5 separate regions of the Homo sapiens genome follow, and regions 1, 2, 3 and 5 are each linked to region 4. Evidence: promoter capture Hi-C in 16 types of primary human blood cells and fetal thymus (Javierre and others, 2016). All regions are on one chromosome and are shown on one strand. The core of a region is centred on a gene start or on the middle of the fragment in contact, and the rest is flanking DNA. Distances in the headings are between cores, read along the strand shown.

Region 1 (2,700 bases), core at 101-2,600, 340 kb before region 4:
TTCCACTTGAATAAAGGTGTGTTTGGTATTCTGAGAATTTGTTTCAAACAAAATCTGAAGGTCTCAGACAGAAGCGTTTGGGAATGTTGGAATCACATCTCTGGCTGCAACTCCTTTCCTCCCTGGAACTTGCTTCACAGCAAGAATGGATCACTTTCCTTTGCATTGATAACAAAGCTTGCTTTTCCACAGACCTCTGGAACAAAAGCTGAATGTTTGGGACTTAAAGGGGATTTGATTGGGAAGTTGTTGGTATATAAAATAAGACTAAATAGTTCGAGGTTTCAGTAGAACTAGGAATAACTTTTTGTTTGTTTGTTTGTTTTTTGAGACAGTCTCGTTCTGTCACCCAGGCTGGAGTGCAGTAGCGTGATCTCGGCTCACTGCAACCTCCGCCTCCTGGGTTCAAACGATTGTCTTGTGTCAGCCTCCCAAGTAGCTGGGATTACAGGCACCTGCCACCTTGCCTGGCTGATTTTTGTATTTTTAGTAGAGACCGGGTTTCACTGTGTTGGCCAGGCTGGTCTCAAACTCCTGACCTCAGGTAATCTGCCTGCCTCAGCCTCCCAAAGTGCTGGGATTACAGGCGTGAGCCGCTGTGCCCAGCCATATTTTTTAAATAAGTAAAACACTTTAAAAAAGGCGGACTCAAAATAGTCCTTTAGGGCAATCCTTTAAGCAGATATTTAATTGGCCTGATACATGAGTTTGTGTTCTGAGTCATTTTGGTCTTGAAAGGGGAGAGAAGAGAAATACGATAGTAGAGGGCACTTTTATCTTCTGTCTTTCCACCTACCTACACACACGTATGTTTGTACATATCTAAACTTTATTCTCAATTCTGCAAAGCAGCTAGCTTCATTTTACAAAGGAATATTTTAGTAAACATACCCCAGGCCAGGTGCAGTGGCTCACGCCTGTAATCTCAACACTTTGGGAGGCTGAGGCGGGCAGATCACTTGAGGTCAGGAGTTGGAGACCAGCCTGGCCAATGTGGCGAAACCCAGTCTCTACTTAAAATAGAAAAATTAGCCAGGCATGGTGTTGCGTGCCTATAATTCCAGCTACCTGGGAGGCTGAGGCGCAACAATAGCTTGAGCCTGGGAGGCAGAGGTTGCAATGAGCCGAGATTGTGCCACTGCACTCCGGAGTGAGACTCTGTCTCAAGAAAACACAAAAAAACAAAAAACAACAATATACCCCAAAGTGATGTTGGTATTACACAGATCTCAAAACCCAGAGAAGTTTGATAGCTCTTCATTCCCTAGTACATCGCTGATGACTCACTGTCATTAGTTTGCAACTGATCTCAAGTGCTCCGAGAGCTCTCTGGGATACTAGGAGAGAATATCCTGAGATTTTTTTAGGGAGCTAGTCAAACCCCTGCTCTGAAACAGGGTTGGACAGTTTTGACAATGGCAGGTCACAGGTCAAAGCTCTCAAATTTCATATGTCCTGTCAAGATACCGCTGCTGCCATCACTAGATTTGCATTTCCATTACACCGTGACCAAATTTACTCTTAATATTTTTCTGATAACCAGAACTTGCTGGTGGGCATGTATCCTTGCTAAGAGTCACTATCACCTCTGGTTATAGCAGTGGAGCAAAGTGGTAATGGGAAAATTCCTAGGTTTTTGGCCTGAGCAAAAGGGTGGATAGAAGTAGATGACAGGTGGGGAACACGGGGAGAGGGGCACGGAGAGTTTTAGCAAAAGAGCTAGCATGTCAAGGCCTGCATGTGAGAGTATGGCACTTTCCAGGTAATAAGTGAGGTATGGAGAAATGCCTCACTGTAGGATGTAGTATGTGGGCAACTGAGGAGGTTGAAGAACCAAGTTCAAAGGAGGCCCCTAGGGATTAGAGAACCAAGCACTATAGGATTCCCACATCTAAAAATGTTGCCTTCATTCATCCATTCATTCAGTAAACATTTAGCAGTGTAGGACTGGCATTGTTTCAGGAGGGATGCCCTGGATTTGGAGATCTTAACATGTAACTAGAGAAAACATTGGCATCCTGGGCTGTGGTGGGAACTAGCACCCGAAAGGTAACTCTGCTGGAGTCAGCAAACTGACATCTGTCCTTTTTCTAACATTTGTATCATATGAAACCACTTTTTTCTTCTTTTTTTTCAAACAGAATCTTGCTCTCTCGCCCAGGGTGGAGTGCAGTGATGTGATCTTGGCTCAGTGCAACCTCTGCCTCCCAGGTTTAAGTATTTCCTGCCTCAGCCTCCTGAGTAGCTGGGACTACAGGCACCTGCCATCACACCTGGCTAATTTTTGTATTTTTTGTAGGGACGGAGTTTCACCATGTTGGCCAGGCTTGTCTCAAACTTCTGACCTCAGGTAATCCACCCGCGTCAGCCTCCCAAAGTGCTGGGATTACAGGTGTGAGGGAATCACATTTTATATTCCCTTCAAAATACAAGTGTGTGAAGGAACCGGTGTTTTAATCCAAGAGTGTAAGAACGATTTCAAACAAATGGCACCCTTTACAAATAAAGAAACTACATACATTTAAAGCTTTATTTTGTGGACACTTCCTATTTACTCTCTGTTTTTAGAAAACTGTTAGCTATGGCTGGGTGTGGTGGCCCACGCCTGTAATCCCAGCACTTTGGGAGGCTGAAGCGGGTGGATCACAAGGTCAGGAGTTCAAGACCAGCCTGGCCAACATGGTGAAACCCCGTCTCTAC
Region 2 (2,700 bases), core at 65-2,564, 400 kb before region 4:
AAAAGGCTTTGCTGCTGCTGCTGCGTCTCCTGCTCCACTCTGTAAGTGCTCCTGCCTCTATGGTCCCACGGGAACTTGGGTCACCTTTCGTCATGGCACTCTTCACGCTGTGCTGTAAGGCTTACCTGTGTGCCCTTCCCATTAGACCAAGGGGTGTCCAATCTTTTGGCTTTCCTGGGCCACACTGGAAGAAGAATTGTCTTGTGCCACACATAAAATACACAAACACTAACCATAGCTGATGAGCTTAAACAAAATAAAAATTGCAAAAAAACCCCTCATGTTTATTTCTTTGAGATGGAGTTTTGCTCTTGTTACCCAGGCTGGAGTGCAATGGCGTGATCTCAGTTCAGCGCAACCTCTGCCTCCCAGGTTCAAGCGATTCTTCTGCTTCAGTCTCCCAAGTAGCTGGGATTATAGGCATGTGCCACACACTCAGCTAATTTTGTATTTTTAGTAGAGATGGGGTTTCTCCACGTTGGTCAGGCTGGTCTTGTACTCCCAGCCTCGGGTGATCCACCCTCATCAGCCTCCCAAAGTGCTGGGATTACAGGCGTGAGCCACTGTGCCTGGCCCTTCATAATGTTTTAAGAAACTTTACAAATTTGTGGGCCAGGCATGGTGGCTCACACCTGTAATCCCAGCACTTTAGGAGGCCGAACCAGGTGGATCAGTTGAGACCAGGAGTTCAAGACCAGCCTGGCCAACATGGCGAAATCCCGTCTCTACTAAAAATACAAAAATTAGTCAGGCATGGTGGCACATGCCTGTAATCCCAGCTACTCAGGAAGCTGAGGCAGGAGACTCTCTTGAACCTGGGAGGCGGAGGTTGCAGTTGGCCAAGATTGTATCACTACACTTCAGCCTGGGCAACAGAGCGAGACTCCATCTCAAAAAAACAAAACAAAATTAGCCGGGTGTGGTGGTGGGCGCCTGTAATCCCAGCTACTTGGGAGGCTGAGGCAGGAGAATCACTTGAACCTGGGAGGCGGAGGTTGCAGTGAGCTGAGATTGCACCACTGTACTCCAGCCTGGGTGACAGAGTGAGACCTTGTCTCAAAAAAAAAAAAAAGAAAGTTTACAAATTTGTGTTGGGGCACATTCAAAGCCATCCTGGGCCACGGGCCGTGGGTTGGGCAAGCTTGCATTAGACAGTACTTTTCCAAGGTAAGAATTGTTTTGTCTATTCCTGAGATGGGCAGAGAGAGAGAGAATAGATTTAATACATATTTCTTGACTGAATAGAAACTAACCATGGAAATTCTGGAAGGGATTTCTGAGGCTGTGGTAATCCAAGAGTGGTCCAGGAAGCCGTGGCACTGGCATTACCTGGGAGCTTATTAGAAGTGCAAACTAGGGGCCAGGCACAGTGGCTCACACCTGTAATCCCAGCACTTTGGGAGGCCATTGCAGGTGAATCACCGGAGTTTGAGACGATCCTGGACAACGTGGTGACACCCTGTCACTACTAAAACTACAAAAATTAGCCAAGCTTGGTGGTGCACACCTGTAATCCTAGCTACTCGGGAGGCTGAGGCAGGAGAATTGCTTGAACCCAGGAGGCGGAGGTTGCAGTGAGCTGAGATCGCGCCACTGCACTCTAGCCTGGGCCACAGAGCGAGACTCTGTCTCCAAAAAAAAAAATTTTTTTTAATTAAATTAAAAAATGAAAAAGAAATGCAAACTCTCAGGCCTCACCCCAGGCCTTTTGAGTCAGAATCTGCAAGTACCAAGATCCCCTAGGGGATGTAGGTGATTTATTTGTACATTAAAGCTCGAGCAGCCCTGGACTGTTAGGAATGCTTCAGTTTCATGGAAGATGTGGGAATTTGGTGGTTCTTTGAGATAATAAAATTTGATCTTGGCAAAGCAGAATGCATCCTTTTTTTTTTTTTTTTTTTTTTTGAGAGGGAGTCTTGCTCTGTCACCCAGGCTGGAGTGCAGTGGTGTGATCTCGGCTCATTGCAACCTCCGCCTCCTGGGTTCAAGTGATTCTCCTGCCTCAGTCTCCTGAGCAGCTGGGACTACAGGCGCCCGCCACCATGCCCAGCTAATTTTTGCATTTTTAGTAGAGATGAGGTTTCACCATATTGGCCAGGCTGGTCTCTAACTCCTGACCTTGTGATCTGCCTGCCTCGGCCTCCCAAAGTGCTAGGATTACAGGCGTGAGCCACCGTACCTGGCCCCCACCTTTTTTTTTTTTTTGAGACGGAGTCTTGCTCTGTCACCCAGGCTGGAGTGCAGTGGCACGATCTTGGCTCACTGTAACCTCCACCTCCCAGGTTCAAGCAATTCTCCTGCCTCAGCCTCTTGAGTAGCTGGGACTACAGGCACCTGCCACCACACCCGGCTAATTTTTGTATTTTTAGTAGAGGTGGGGTTTCACCATACAGGCCGGGCTGGTCTCGAACTGCTGACCTTGTGATCCTCCTGCCTCGGCCTCCCAAAGTACTAGGATTACAGGCGTGAGCCACCACGCCCAGTATTTTTTTTTTTTTTTTTTTTCTGAGACAGTGGCTGACTCTGTTGCCCAGGCTGGAGTGCAGTGGTGCAATCTTGGCTCATTGCAACTTCTGCATCCTAGGTTCAAGCGATTATCATGCCTTATCCTCTCAAGCAGCCAGGATTACAGGCGTGCATCACCACATCTGGCTGATTTTTGTATTTTTAGTAGAGATGGGATTTTGCCTTGTTGGCCAG
Region 3 (2,700 bases), core at 12-2,511, 380 kb before region 4:
TCAGGATATTAGCCTCTTTTTGACAACTCTTTCAGATCTGTTTGGTGTGATTAGATAGGTGCAAATTACAAGTTGTCATAAACTGTGTTCTCCACTTCTCCCCAGCCAGAAGGAATTATTGAAGTCCCAGCCCCTAGTACCTCAGAATGTGACCTTATTGGAGATAGAACCATAGCAGATATAATTAGTTAAGACAAGGTCTCGGTCGGGCATGGTGGCTCATACCTGTAATCCCAGCACTTTGGGAGGCCGAGGCAGGTGGATCACTTGAGTTCAGGAGTTCGAGACCAGCCTGGCCAATATGGTGAAACCGCGACTCTACTAAAAATACAAAACTTAGCTGGGCGTGGCGGGCGCCTGTAATCCCAGCTACTCTGGAGGCTGAGGCAGGGAGAATCGCTTGAACCCAGCTACTCTGGAGGCTGAGGCAGGGAGAATCGCTTGAACCTGGGAGGCGGAGGTTGCAGCGAGCTGAGATCGCGCCACTGCACTCCAGCCTGGGCAACAGAGTGAGATTCTGTCTCAAAAAAAAAAAAAAAAAAAGACAAGATCTTACTGGGATGGGATGAGCCCCTAATCCAGTGACTGATGTCCTTATGAGAAGCTGACTGTGTGGACACAGGCACACAAGAGAGAAGGTCACGTGATGGCAAGGGCAGAGACTGGGGTTATGCAGCTGCAAGCCAAGGAATGCCAAAGATTGCCAGCAAACCACCAGAAGCTATGAAGAGCCAAGGTTTCCCTTGCAAGTTTCAGGGATAGACCTGCTGACACCTTAGTTTCTGACTTCTAAACTCCAGTACTGAGAGACAATACATTTTTATTGTTTTAAACCACCCAGTTTGTGGTACTTTGTTACAGCAGACCTGGGAAATGAATGCACAAGTGTATTCTCCTTTGTGAATATTAGCAAATTAAGGATTTTTTTTTTTTTTTGAGGTGGAGTCTTACTCTCTCGCCCAGGCTGGAGTGCAGTGGTGCGATCTCGGCTCACTGCAACCTCTGCCTCCTGAGTTCAAGCGATTCTCCTGCCTCAGCCTCCTAAGTAGCTGGTATTGAAGAGCCAGCCGCACAGCTGTGTGTGGGAGCCACCTGACTAAGCAGCCGAGACAAGGCGGACAGTATAAGAGAACTAGTGTAAGTGAGCTGCTGATGAGAGCTGCTAAATAAAACTACATTTCACCTGCCTACGGCCCCCTGAGTGTTTTCAGCTATCTGCTCATCCACTCACTCCCTTTGGACCTCAGCATGAGTTGGAACCTGACCCTGGGCATGACAGTTGGCGTAGTCGTGAACCTGACACCGATGGAACAGTATAGCTCTAAGGCGATCAATTGGAATATGAAACAGTTAATTTTTACATTGAGTTATTTCCATTTGTTAAAAGTGAAAAAGGGGGAAATGATTAAAATCTGCTTTTTTTGTTGTTGTTGTTAAGACAGAGTCTCACACTGTCACCCAGGCTGGAGTGCAATGGTGTGACTATGGTTCACTATACCCTCGACTTCCTGGGCTCAAGTGATCCTCCCACCTTGACCTCCTGAGCAGCAGGGACTACAGGTGCTCACCATCATTCTTGGTGCTCACCATCATTTTTAATTTTTTTGTGTGAGGAGACGGGCTCTCACATGTTGCCCTGGCTGGTCTCTTAACTCCTGACCTCAAGCAATCCTTCCACCTCAGCCTCCTGAGTAGCTGGGTCCATAGGCGCACACCATCGTGCCTGGCTGATTTTTGCATTTTCGTAGAGATGGGGTTTTGCCATGTTGCCTAGGCTCATCTCAAACTCCTGGGCAACAGATCAAGCGATCCTCTGACTTCAGCCCACTTCGGCCTCCCAAAGTGTTGGGACTACAGGCATGAGCTGCTAACACCTGGCACTGCTGTCTCTTTAGGAAGAAAAACCCATAAGAACATTAAAGACTTCCTAAAGCAATTGGTCTTAACATTTTGGGGATAAGGTAGCCTTCTTAGACTCTGTTGAAATCCACTGGCCTTTCCCCCAGAAAAGTCCATATTTTGAGTCTGATGCACAATCTCAGAATGTCTGTGGACCCACTAGGGCTATCTGAAAATTCCAAAAGAAGGGACATAGAGGAAAAACTGGCTGAGGGGAATTGCATTAGGAGCACTGGGGGTAGTGAAAACAATCATACCTAAAGTAAGAGAACACCAAAGCATTACCAGGCATGGATGGCATGTTAGAGAGTGGGGAAAAGGCAGGTTTACAGAGTCTGCACTACAAATGAGAAAGTAGGCAAAAAGAAAAAAAAAGTACTTTGGCAGCTCAAAGTAATAATAAAAAAGAGGGAAGAAAATTACCTTTTTTCCTGTTTTTTGAGACAGGGTCTCACTCTGTCCCCCAGGCTGGAGTGCAGTGGCATGATCTCAGCTCACTGCAATCTCCACTTCCTGGGTTCAAGCAATTCTCCTGCCTCAGCCTCCCGAGTAGCTGGGACTATAGGCACCCATCACCACGCCCAGCTAATTTTTGTATTTTTTGGTAGAGATGGGGTTTCACCATGTTTGCCAGGCTGGTCTTGAACTCCTGACCTCAGGTGATCCACCTGCCTCAGCTGCCCAAAGTGCTGGAATTACAGGCATGAGCCACCACGCCCGGCCTTATTTTTTTCCCTTTTGCTTTGATGATATACATTCTCTACATAATAATCATTCAGTACTAGTACAGAAAACTCTTGT
Region 4 (2,700 bases), core at 65-2,564:
GTGTTGTAAATGTAAAATACACACCAATTTCAGACCTATTATGAAAAAGGAGTATAAAATATCTCATTGAGGCCGGGCGTGGTGACTCACACCTTAATCCCAGCACTATGGGAGGCCAAGCGGGGCAGATCACTTGAGGTCAGCAGTTCGAGACCAGCCTGGCCAAGATGGTGAAACCCCTCTATACTAAAAAACAAAAATTAACCGGGTGTGGTGGCGTGTGCCTGTAATCCCAGCTACTCGGGAGGCTGAGGCAGGAGAACTGCTTGAACCCCGGAGGAGGAGGTTGCAGTGAGCCAAGATCACGCCACTGTGCTCCAGCCTGGGCAATAAAGTGAGACTCCATCTCAGAAAAAAAAAAAAAATCTCATTGATAATTTTCATCTCAGCTTTGAATATTTGGGGTAATCAGATTAAATAAAATATATTATTACAATTAACGTCACCTCGTTTCCTTATCTTACCAGAAAGATTTTAAATTACATATGTGGTTTCTATTGGACAGCAGCGGCACACACCCTCTCAGTATGTTTTTCTTTATTATGAGCTCCCCAAGGGCCAGTTTATTGAAAATTCTGCACAATGATTGCTGAGGTTTGCACCTCCCCTCCTCTCATTCCAGTTTTAACCCTAGCTCTGAAATTCGTGTTTTGCTTAACTTCTTTGAGTTTCAGGGGCTTTTCATGCTTCCAGTAGGAATGACAGCCACTTCGTGGCTCTTTTAGGAGCATTAAGTAAACTTTATCGGGCAACACTGACAGCCCCGTCATAGTCACCGCGACGGCCAGCTCACCCGGTAGCTCTCGAAGGCCTCGTCGATGGGTGCCATGGCGTGAGTCTGGTGCTCCTGGGACTCCCTGCACACCAGGCACACTGGCCGCTGGTCGTCCTCGCAGAAGAGCCGCAGCGGCTCCCAGTGGCGGCCGCACAGGCCCGGGGGCACGGGGCCCAGGCGCCGGCGCTGCGTCTTCTCAGTCAGCCTGGCCAGGGCCCAGTTGGGTCGCAGCGCGGCGGGCGCCGATGGGTGCCGACATTCGGGGCAGGGGAACGGGCCGCCGCCCGGCGCCCAGTTGCGGTGCAGGCAGCCGCGGCAGAAGTTGTGGCCGCACTCGATGGACACCGGGTCCTGGAAATAGTCCAGGCAGATGGGGCAGGTCAACTCCTCCTGGATGTCCTCAGCTTCCATGCTGCTTCCCTGCCGCGGAGACGGAGTCCGACGTGAGGCGCGGGAGAGGCCAGCAAGCTGCGAGCGGCCGCGGGGAGGCCAGACGACTTCCGAACCGCCGTCACCGCCTCACGTAAAAGGGTACAACGCAGTTTCTCTTCCGGGGTTCAGGACCCAAAAAGAACGCACGGACGTTGCCCGGCCTGAGCGCGCAAGACCGGAAGCTGCTGGGTATCCGCGCCGGAACCGCGAGGGGGTTGGTTCAGGCCTAGGCGCGGGGCAGGACGGGACCGGTGAGTGGCTCCTCCAAACAGCTATAGAGACCCAGAAATGCCTGTGGAAAGCTACAGAGGACTTGGGCAAGGCGTTAGAGCCGGACGTTGTGGTCCCTGGGGGAGCCAACCGGGGAGGTGCCTATGATCTTTCTTTCCAAGTTTGAGGGTTCAGGTCTGTGTTCGCCTGCTGGTTAGACCGATTTAAGTTTTAGAGTCCCAGGAGTTCTGGGCGAGCTGCAGCCTAGGGGCCTGGAAGGCCAGGAAGACTTGAAGGATCTGTGTTGGTAGGCCTGGAGTTTGGCTAACGTGGGGATGATTTGGATTCTGAGATGCAGATACATTGCCTTTTTGGTATCCAATTTGAAAAGTAGCAACCATTTTGCTATCCCAAAGAACATCCATGGAGGCTTTCAACAAATAATATGCTCACCTGTTTCAGGGAATTATCTATATCCCTTAAGTGGATTTTCGATCTTGTGTTTCTGAGGTGCTTTGCTTTTTATTCTTCCCACTTTCTTCCTTTTCTTGTGAATATTTGTTTAAAACAAAAAAAACTCTGGACTGACAAATTTAATAGAAGCTATTTGCACAAAGAACAGTTCATGAATTGGGCAGCACTCAGAACCAAAAGAGGTTCAGAGAGCTCTGTCCAGCAGTATGACCTGCTAGCTTTTATAGGAAGCAAAGTAGAGAAATCACCTCATTAGCTAACATCTAGGTGTCTGCCTTATTTGACAATGATATGATGAGGCATTTGCCTTATTGGGGCATGGTCTGATCAGTTGGCTGTCTGTTATTTGCTGAAGCTCGGCCGTGATTGGCTGAAACCCAGCTGTTATAAAAAATAAAGTAAGTTAGGCTTCAGTTCGTTTACATACTAAGTCAGGTTGTATTTTGTTATATGGGAACTCAAGTACCAAGACAGCCTCAGGCTAATGGGCTTTTGCTTATTTAACAGATTTTTCATTCTTTTTATGTCCCAATATCAAATACTGCCTTTCCTATAATAATTTTTCTCAGTAAGTAGTATGATTAAATGATTAGAAAAAGGGGTTCTTGAGGTATCTGTTTGGGGGTTATTGATGAAAGTTCCACTGAATATTTCTAAAACATTTAAATTGGACAACTAATGAATGGATTTTCTTTGCAAATTGGAATACTCTATGGAGAAGGGATCTGGTTCTTTAATAGGGACCAAGCAGGAAGGAATGCTCTTAACAGTTACTGATGTTTACCATGAGTGTTTATGGCATCTGTGTG
Region 5 (2,700 bases), core at 166-2,665, 280 kb before region 4:
GAGTTCCTGTTTTGAGAGACCTTCTCTAACTATCTGTCATGTTTTTAAAACATATCTGCAAATTCTTTGACACTCTTTTCACCAAGAGTTAGAGTCCAGTTCCTCTCCTCTTGAAACTGACCAAAGTGACTCACTTCTAACAAATTAAATGTGAAGGCAGTGATGCTTAGTCATAAGAGGTGATAGGTGGGATGCTTGCCCTTGGAACAGAGCTGCAATGCTGGGAGGAACCTCCACCACATTGACAGGCTGCACAGAGGTATTCCAGCAATAGTCCTCACTGTGGTCATAGTGGACACCTAGCACCAACCATCAGTCAGGTGAGAAGGAACCCTCCAGATGACTCCAGCTCCAGTCCCTGTTTGACTGGAACCATGTGAGAGACCCTACAGGGAAACTGCCAAGCTCAGCCTAGTCACCCCCAGAAATATGAACGAAAATAAATGCATGCTATTGTTTTTAGCCACTAAGTATGAGTGGTTTAATTACATAGCAATAGATAATTGGAACACAACCCTTCTACAGTAGCACTCCCCATCAGTCTCTATTTTCTTACGTAGATTTATTTTTCTTTGTAGCCCTTACCATTATCTGACGTATTATAAATTTGTTTTTGTTTCCTGTTCTACCACATGCCCTGGAACTTCAGCTGTGTGAAAGTAGAAACTTTGCTTTTTTTGCTGATATTTCCCCCACTACCTAGAATGGTGCTTGGTACATACTAGTCACTCAAGCTCAGATTGTTTTGTTAAATGGATGTACCTGTGGTCTGTGATGTGAAGAAGGCATCCAAGTTGAACAGAGACAGTATGGGCGTGAAAGTATTGTGGAACTTGGAAAGGACCACATAGGAGATATTATTATTATTCTCATTATTCTTGAGGATACTTTTACTTCCCCATTAGTGGTCCTTAATAATGATTTTTTAATGTAGGTAATGAAGTTATTTTTTCTTTTTTTCAAAAAAGCAATTTATTTTTGAAGTAGAAATAAAAATTCTGGTGTTTATAGGATCGAGTTTACACTTCCAAGTCTGTAAGAGTGACTAAGCTTCTGAACCTTTTATGGTTGCATTATGTGCAGGATGAGAAAGGGAATGTTTCTCTCCCCATACCCCTAAGCAAGCAGCCTGCAGGCCAAGACCGGTGCCCATCTAGAAAGGCGTTTGCCATAAGAGAAGAATCATCTTACCCTATGTACTCCATTGGACTTTAGAAGCCTGTGAGCCGGAAAGTCTCCTTACAAACCAGCATAGAGCAAGGTTAGGTGAAGGTCTTTCATGTTTACCCATTGCTGCCCCCCCTTTTTTTTTCATGTTCATTTTTTTTTCCATGGGGCCAAATCATTATATTCTTCACCATTACAGCAAATGCATATTGAACATTTCTTCATAGTGATGTCAACTCTTCATGTCATTTTCACAGTCTTGAGGTGAGATTCTGTTGAGTTTTTTGTGGTTTTATGGCCAGAGACCCAGGAAAGGCTGATTCTTGCCCTGCCAATCATCCCAACCCCGATGGCCCAAGGAGCAACAGCAGATGGGGCTCTCAGTCCCACTGTAGTAGTATCTGAGCTGCACCCAGTAACCTGCATCATAGAGGTCACTGGGGAAGGGAGTTGTGAGATCGTGTAGGCTTGCATTGCTCCCCCCTCTCAGCCCCACATCTGAGTTGAAGACCTGTGGGTTCAGGCACACTGTGCAGGAGGGAGATTGGAGACCAAATGGGAATTCCAAGAGATGCACAAGCAGAAGACTGTTCAGGGCCAGGCAAAAAGGAAGGAAGCTTCATCTCAGATGCTGACCCTGTGAGGCACACCACCCTTCATAAAATAGGGGCCAGTGAGATCCTGGGGCTCTGACAAGCACACACTTAATTCTTTTTCTTTGGATGGGATCAGGATCAAGGAGACAAAGGGAATGGGTTAAGGCAAAATCTCTTGGAGATGGTCATCAGTGTTCTTTCTCCAGTGTTTGCTGTCATCGTCCTTGTCATCATTGTCACCGTCACCATCATTAGCTATAGCAGCACACTTGTACTGAGTCATTGTTTTACACCAGGTGCTGTGATAGATTCTTCTGTGGATGGGGTTATTTGGATAAACAGGATCTTTTATACAACTTAAGAACAAACAGTCCTGTTTGGGGTAGCATTTGGGGTGCACTTGACTGATGCCAAGCAGAGCATGAAAAGGACTGTCACAGAATTTGCATTCTGGAGAACTCTGGAGGGGAAAGAAGACCCTCTCCTGGCCTAGGGCACTGGAGGCTTCATGAAGAACATGATATTTGATCTGAGCCTTGAAGGACAAGTGGAATTTTGTAGATAGAAATGGGCAAGTTGGGCTGCCTGAACAGCATGAGGGGGACTAAAAGCATGGTGTCTTTGGTAAATGAGAGGGACTTGGACTAGAAGGCAGTTGTTGTGACCCTCTGAGTAATTCTTTTTCCTCCGCCACGCCCTTTGCAGCCTATTACTGTAATTGATAGGAAGCTGCATATAATTCCTCCCACATGAACTCATTTTTATGAGGCCTTTCTTCATTTGTTTCCTTTCCCAAGTCAATGAGTGGAGAAGCACATTCCTAGGGATTATGATAGCCGATTTCCTGCATGTTCTTCACTCACAGAAAAGCAATGCCAGATCTGGTCTCCTTTCTTTCCTTTCCATGTATGTAACAGACCTTTCTTTTTTTGAAAAA

What was found. The method cuts DNA at HindIII sites, captures the fragments that hold promoters and counts their contacts. A CHiCAGO score of 5 or more calls a contact.
Region 1: a contact is called between a fragment that was not itself captured here and the fragment with the promoter of TRIM4 in region 4, in 1 of 17 cell types (erythroblasts). The highest score is 5.3, in erythroblasts.
Region 2: a fragment that was not itself captured here is called in contact with the fragment with the promoter of TRIM4 in region 4 in 1 of 17 cell types (erythroblasts); the score reaches 5.2 in erythroblasts.
Region 3: a contact is called between a fragment that was not itself captured here and the fragment with the promoter of TRIM4 in region 4, in 1 of 17 cell types (erythroblasts). The highest score is 5.1, in erythroblasts.
Region 5: a contact is called between a fragment that was not itself captured here and the fragment with the promoter of TRIM4 in region 4, in 1 of 17 cell types (erythroblasts). The highest score is 5.3, in erythroblasts.

What each region holds. Positions count from the first base shown.
Region 1 is chr7:99,576,417-99,579,116 of GRCh38, forward strand. ZNF655 (zinc finger protein 655) reads left to right here. Exons shown (of 3, transcript NM_138494.3): 3 at 1-37. Among named protein-coding and RNA genes, the nearest start is that of ZNF655, 19 kb to the left of the region's middle. The HindIII fragment of the contact is 2,350 bases long and covers 176-2,525 here.
Region 2 is chr7:99,516,789-99,519,488 of GRCh38, forward strand. The region is part of intron 3 of ZKSCAN5 (zinc finger with KRAB and SCAN domains 5); the gene reads left to right. Among named protein-coding and RNA genes, the nearest start is that of ZKSCAN5, 13 kb to the left of the region's middle. The HindIII fragment of the contact is 351 bases long and covers 1,140-1,490 here.
Region 3 is chr7:99,536,653-99,539,352 of GRCh38, forward strand. No RefSeq gene overlaps it. Among named protein-coding and RNA genes, the nearest start is that of FAM200A, 14 kb to the right of the region's middle. The HindIII fragment of the contact is 5,686 bases long and covers 1-2,700 here.
Region 4 is chr7:99,918,216-99,920,915 of GRCh38, forward strand. It overlaps TRIM4 (tripartite motif containing 4), which reads right to left and starts at 1,315. Exons shown (of 6, transcript NM_033091.3): 1 at 794-1,315. The coding sequence starts at 1,186. LOC101927610 (a long non-coding RNA gene) reads left to right here and starts at 1,388. Exons shown (of 2, transcript XR_001745296.3): 1 at 1,388-1,612. RefSeq lists a silencer at 887-1,046 and enhancers at 1,177-1,226, 1,257-1,336, 1,577-1,686. The HindIII fragment of the contact is 3,942 bases long and covers 1-2,700 here.
Region 5 is chr7:99,642,127-99,644,826 of GRCh38, forward strand. It overlaps a transcript of ZSCAN25 not described here. Among named protein-coding and RNA genes, the nearest start is that of ZSCAN25, 27 kb to the left of the region's middle. The HindIII fragment of the contact is 734 bases long and covers 1,049-1,782 here.